Linked DNA regions of Homo sapiens: region 1 is linked to region 2. Evidence: promoter capture Hi-C in 16 types of primary human blood cells and fetal thymus (Javierre and others, 2016). All regions are on one chromosome and are shown on one strand. Each heading gives the region's core, a stretch centred on a gene start or on the middle of the fragment in contact. The rest is flanking DNA. Distances are from core to core; before and after follow the strand shown.

Region 1 (2,979 bases), core at 438-2,937, 400 kb after region 2:
CAGATATCATTAATCTTCTGAGACATATTTAGCCTCAGAAGGCTTACCAGTCTATACACAGGACCAAATTATAACTTCCTTGCCCTAGGACCCACCACCTGGGTCCCTTCTTTACCTGTCTAATCTTAGCACCCACCACTTTTTTTTTTTTGGAGATGGAGGCTCACTGTGACACCTAGGCTGGAGTGCAGTGGCATGATCTCGGCTCACCACAACCTCTGCCTCCCCGGTTGAAGCAATTCTCCTGCCTCAGCCTCCCGAGTAGCTGGGACTACAGGCGCGTGCCACCACGCCTGGCTAATTTTTGTATTTTTAGTAGAGACGGGGTTTCACTATGTTGGCCAGGCTGGTCTCGAACTCCTGACCTCGTGATCCGCCCGCCTCGGACTCCCAAAGTGCTGGGATTACAGGCTTGAGCCACCGCGCCCGGCCAGCAGCCAACACTCTTCTAACCCATCTTCTATTCTCTTGGGCTGAATCTTGACTCAAATTCTTCCTCCTGTCCTCAAGACTGCCTACTCACTTTTTACCATCTATTAAAATCAGAGCCACCTAGTACTAGCACAATGCCTAGCACAAAATAGGCAATCAGTAATTTTTTGTTGCTGTTGCCCAGGCTTGTCTTAAACTCCTGGACTCAGCTGTCCTCCTGCCTCAGCCTCCCAAGAAGCTGGGATTATAGGTACACACCGAGTTCTGCTGAAATCAGGTACAATTTTTTTCACCATCTGTCTAACTAGAAAGTAAATTTTTTAATGAAGTAATTAGTAAAAAGAAAAAATTCTTCACCCACAGAACCTTCCATGACCAACTCTTTCTTCTCTTAATTCGTGCATTCTCTCTCAGCAATTATATATTGAGCATCTCCTTCTCCAGCTTCTACTTATATAAGTGTTATTCACTATGTGCCAAATGTTTCTTTAAGCTTTTCATATGTATTATCTCATTTAATCCTTACCACAACTCTAGAAGGGAGGCTTTTCTCATTTTATAAACTTGAAAATCAAGGCTCAGAGAGGTTAAATAACTTGTCTAAGGTTACACAATTACTAAGTCAAGATCTAAACTTCCTTGAGACATTTTTGCTAAAATCTGAAAGATGAATAGAAGTTTTTCTCCACTCCCATATGAAAAAAAGAGACCAAGGGCATATGTTAGGAGGAACTCCTTGAGGCTGAAACACTGAGAATAAGGGAAAGAATAGCAGGAATTGATGCATAAACTGGGCAAATCATGCAATTCTGTGTATAATAAGGAATTTGGTATATATCCCAAGAGCAATGAAAATTCATTGAAGGGTTTTAAGCAAGTAACATGATCAAATTTACATTCTTAAAATATCTGCCTGGCTATTCTGCAGAAAATGTACTCAACAGGTAAAACATATGAATGCAGAGAATTTAGGATAGTCTGAGTACTGAATCAAGAGTTAGAGGATGCCAGGCACTGTGGCTCACTCCTGTAATCCTAGCACTTTGGGAGGCCAAGGCGGGCGGATCACCTGAAATCAGGAGTTCGAGACCAGCCTGACCAACATGGTGAAATCCTGTCTCTACTAAAAATACAAAAAAAAAAAAAAAATTGCCAGGTGTGGTAGCGGGTGCTTGTATTCCTAGCTACTCAGGAGCGTGAGGCAGGAGAATCGCCTGAACCTGGGAGGTGGAGGTTGCAGTGAGTTGAGATTGCACCACTGTACTCCAGCCTAGGCAACAGAACAAGACTCTATCTCAAAAAAAAAAAAAAAAAAAAAAAAAAATTTGGAGGAAAGAGAAGCAATTAGAACCGTAACAATGGAAGTAACCTTACAGATTATCACCCCCTCATTTCATTTCATAAGAAATAAAATTCATAGAAGCTAAGTCATTTGTTTCAGGTTACACAATTTAGAGCTTATACAATCTAGTTGGAGAGATAAGATTAACACATGAAATATTTTTTAATGTACAAGACAGAATATAATTGAAAGCTAAATCACATAGTGTACAACGTTGTAATGTATTAAAGAAATCCAAATTAAATCAACCCCAAGGTGCCATTATATACCTAGAAAACTAGTAAAAATTTAAAAAAATTATTAAGCCCAATGTCTGGGTGGCCCTGGGAAAACAGATACTCTTACACAATAATGGCATTGTAAGAAATTGGCGCAGTCTTATTAGATTGCAAGGCAATGCATGACAAGAGCCATAAAACTTTTTTTTTTTAATTTCTATTATTATTATTTTTTTAGCTCGGTGTCTCGCTCTTTGTCACCCAGGCTGGAGTGCAGTAGCATGATCTCAGCTCACTGTAACCTCCATCTCCCTGGCTCAAGTGATCCCCCCATCTCAGCTGTACCCCCTCCCCCACCAGTAGCTGGAACTACAGGCGCACATTGTTTGTTTGTTTTGTAGAAACAGGGTTTGGCCATATTACCCAGGCTGTTCTTAAACTCCTAAGCTCAAGCTTTGGGAGCCCACCTTGCCCTCCCAAAGGATGCTGGGATTATAGGTGTGGGCCACCACGCCCAGCCCATAAAACTTTTTATACCCTTTTCTCTGCTATCTCAACTATAGGGAATAGACTTCAAGAAAATAATCACAAAGAAAAAAAGTGATTAGTAAAGAGATGTTTATAGCAACACTATAATAGTGAAACTGGAAACAACCCAATAGCCCAACAATAACAAACTGATGAAAACTAGTAATACAAGTAGTAATACCATAGAATAATAAATGGCCATTAAAGAGAAAGCAAATGAGAGCTAGTATTTAGTAAATGCCATTCATGTATCAGGGACTGGACTAATCTCATTTAATCTTTATGACATTATGGTCTTACAAAGTATACATTAATTATCCTAATTTTATAGATGAGAAAACTGAAGCTCAGGAAGCACAGGAAACTCTGCCAAGGACCACGCAGCTAATAACGAGAGTACAAATACTCAAAAATATTTTCAAGTGATAATAGTAGGCATATAGTATATAAAACTATTTA
Region 2 (2,747 bases), core at 61-2,560:
TGTACACTGCTGAGCAGATAAGAGCCAGCATATTCAAAAAATATTTCTTGAGCATCTGCTAATCCTCATCTTTGTGGTTTTTCAGGGCTAGGATACTAGAGCAGTAGCTGCTTGAGCAGCTTGTCAGAGCTGGTCCCGGGATGAGGGCTGAGGCAGGCACCTCACTTGAGAGTGAGGTGGGCTCTGTGAAACAGCTACTGACCGTGCGCTTTCCTTTCTCTTCAGCCTCACCTGAGTCACCTTCCAAGTTGTTCCATGGGCTCCTGGCTCTGGACTGTGGCCAACCTTCTCCACATTCCGCCCAATCTGTACCGGATGCTGGCAGGGAGGTGGCAGAGAGCTCACTGGGACTGAGGGGCTGGGCACCCAACCCTTTTCCACCTGTGCTTATCGCCTGGATCTATCATTACTGCAAAAACCTGCTCTGTTGTGCTGGCTGGCAGGCCCTGTGGCTGCTGGCTGAGGGTTCTGCTGTCCTGTGCCACCCCATTAAAGTGCAGTTCCCTCCGGGCCATTCTGAATGTGATGTTTGGGGCCCTCAGCCTGTGTACAATCCCTGCACTCTCCAGTTGTTCCAGCATTCTGGGAAGATAGGGTGGGATGAACACAACACACACCCAACCCAGTTCACCACCTCCACACACGCCATTCCCTTCTCCTCTACCATCAGGATGTGAGGCTTCATCCTGGGGCAAGAAACACTCTCCACTACAGTTCTCCTTTTTTCTTTTTTCTTTTTGAGGCAGTGTCTCCCTCTGTCACCCAGGCTGGAGTGTTGTGACGCAAGGATGGCTCACTGTAGCCTTGACCTGTTGGGCTCAAGCGATCCTCTCGCCTCGTTTATTTTTTTGTAGAAACGAAGTCACTGTGTTGCCCAGGCTGGTTTATACTCCTGAACTCAAGCGACCCACCGCCTCGGCCTCCCAAAGTGTTGGGATTACAGGCGTGAGCCACGGCGCCCGGTCTAGTTCTCACAGTTTTCACCCGACTTCTGCGCCGGTCTTCTCTGGCCTTGAAAGGCAGAGAGTCCGTTCCGATTTTCCCCTGAGCTGGGCAAGTCCCCTGTGAGAGCTCTGGGGCATCTGGCTTCGGGGCATTCTTTGACTAAGGTGGATGGAGGTTGCAGGTCTTTTCCTGGGTGGGCGTGGGGCGGGGCAGCGGGTTCCCAGCGTCCTCCTGGCCTGGGCGTCTTGGAGGCTGTTGGGGTGCATTCCGTCCCCTTGCGCGGGGCGGGGCCTTGAGGCGCTGGGGCGGGATTGGCGGGGGACGGTCGCGGAGCCCCGCCCCGAAGCACAGGGTCGAGTCCCTTCTTTCCGCTCCAACGCACGGAGGGTGAGGTCGGTACGCGGTGGTGGCGTCACGGCGCCAGCTCCTCCCGACGCCGAGGTGGGTTCCGGGAGACCCGCGGGTCTGGCTGCGAGAGGTGAGGGCAGAGCCGGGGCGGGGCCCTAGCGGGGTGTCCCGGCGACCCAGACCTTAAAGGGCTTCTCTTCTTGCAGACCATGGGGGCTCAGCTAAGCGGCGGCCGCGGCGCCCCGGAGCCTGCGCAAACCCAGCCCCAGCCCCAGCCCCAGCCTGCGGCGCCGGAGGGCCCGGAACAGCCCCGGCATCCGCCCCAGCCCCAGCCCCAGCCCCAGCCCCAGCCCCAGCCCGAGCCCAGCCCGTGGGGGCCGCTGGACGACGTGCGCTTCCTCATCGCCTGCACTTCCTGGTACTGACGGCGTCCTCCGCAGGATGTCGCCCGTCTGTCCGCCGTCCCCTGTGGTTCTTGCCTGCCTTGTCTCCTCTCCCCACGTCCCTGCGTCTCTTACACCCCCTCCCACCCGAGGCTCCCCAGAGATAGCAGAGAATTCGAAGAGGTCGCCGGGGACTGGAAAGAAGTCCCGGCAGGGCCGCCTTCGCAGTCTACACCCCAGCCTGCTTCCCAGCCTACACCCAGACCCAGCTCAGACCTTCGTGACCACCCCATCCCTTTCTCCGGCTGGCTGGGTCGGGGGCATCCCTCTCTGTCGCTGGCTTCCAGAGGCAGGACAGGCCTCCTGGTAAGCCCGCAAAGTTGCTGACCTCCTGACTTCGTCTGCCTTTTATTAATATCTGTATTGCTGATAACCGTGCTCTTGACTATGTGTCCCAGGTCATGTCCCAGGTCATGGAGAAGCCCGTGCCACAGTGACCCTCCCCATACTCCTGGGGGGGCTGCTCTCCATCCTGGATCGTAAGGAGGCATCATCAGGCTGTGTTCCTGGAACCCCAATAACCCTGGGCCCCCAGGGCCAGCCTGTTGTAGAGGGAGGCTATCTGACCGCCGGTCTGGCAGAGGAGATGGGTGGGCAGCTCCCAGACACCCCAAAGGACCCGGTTCTCTTCCCAGAGCGTCCTAAGGTTACTCTTGGAACCTGATCTTTGTTCCCTCATCCCAGGGAAATGACACACTCTGTATTTCTGTTTTATTTAGAAATGATTTAAAAAACATTATACAAAGGCTGATCAGTTTAAAATGTGACTGACACTGAAATGCTGTGATGTCCCCCAGGCTGAGGGGAAGCTAGGCTCTGGGGCCCCCAGTGCTTTGCCCCTCTGTCTGCCCTGTCCTGGGGTGATGGACAAACAGATGACCACAGGCAGGAGAATCTGAGATTGGAAGCCTCTAGGCTGAGCCCTCTGGGCCTGGCCCCACATCCCTCACCTCTGCAGCCTGGGCTGCCTGCCTCCATCTCCTGTTCATTCTCAGCTGGCCTGCCAGGAGC

The links. The method cuts DNA at HindIII sites, captures the fragments that hold promoters and counts their contacts. A CHiCAGO score of 5 or more calls a contact.
Region 1: a fragment that was not itself captured here is called in contact with the fragment with the promoter of MMP24-AS1-EDEM2 in region 2 in 1 of 17 cell types (endothelial precursors); the score reaches 6.4 in endothelial precursors.

Annotation. Positions count from the first base shown.
Region 1 is chr20:34,879,795-34,882,773 of GRCh38, reverse strand. All of the region lies in intron 1 of ACSS2 (acyl-CoA synthetase short chain family member 2), which reads right to left. Among named protein-coding and RNA genes, the nearest start is that of ACSS2, 4.7 kb to the right of the region's middle. The HindIII fragment of the contact is 1,520 bases long and covers 928-2,447 here.
Region 2 is chr20:35,276,685-35,279,431 of GRCh38, reverse strand. It overlaps MMP24-AS1-EDEM2 (MMP24-AS1-EDEM2 readthrough), which reads left to right and starts at 1,310. Exons shown (of 15, transcript NM_001355008.2): 1 at 1,310-1,386. MMP24 (matrix metallopeptidase 24) reads right to left here. Exons shown (of 9, transcript NM_006690.4): 9 at 2,434-2,747. It overlaps MMP24OS (MMP24 opposite strand), which reads left to right and starts at 1,310. Exons shown (of 2, transcript NM_001355003.2): 1 at 1,310-1,423; 2 at 1,500-2,747. The coding sequence starts at 1,503. The coding sequence ends at 1,718. EIF6 (eukaryotic translation initiation factor 6) reads left to right here. Exons shown (of 7, transcript NM_002212.4): 7 at 226-514. The coding sequence ends at 235. RefSeq lists silencers at 1,131-1,350, 1,441-1,660 and enhancers at 1,791-1,960, 2,081-2,180. The HindIII fragment of the contact is 17,447 bases long and covers 1-2,747 here.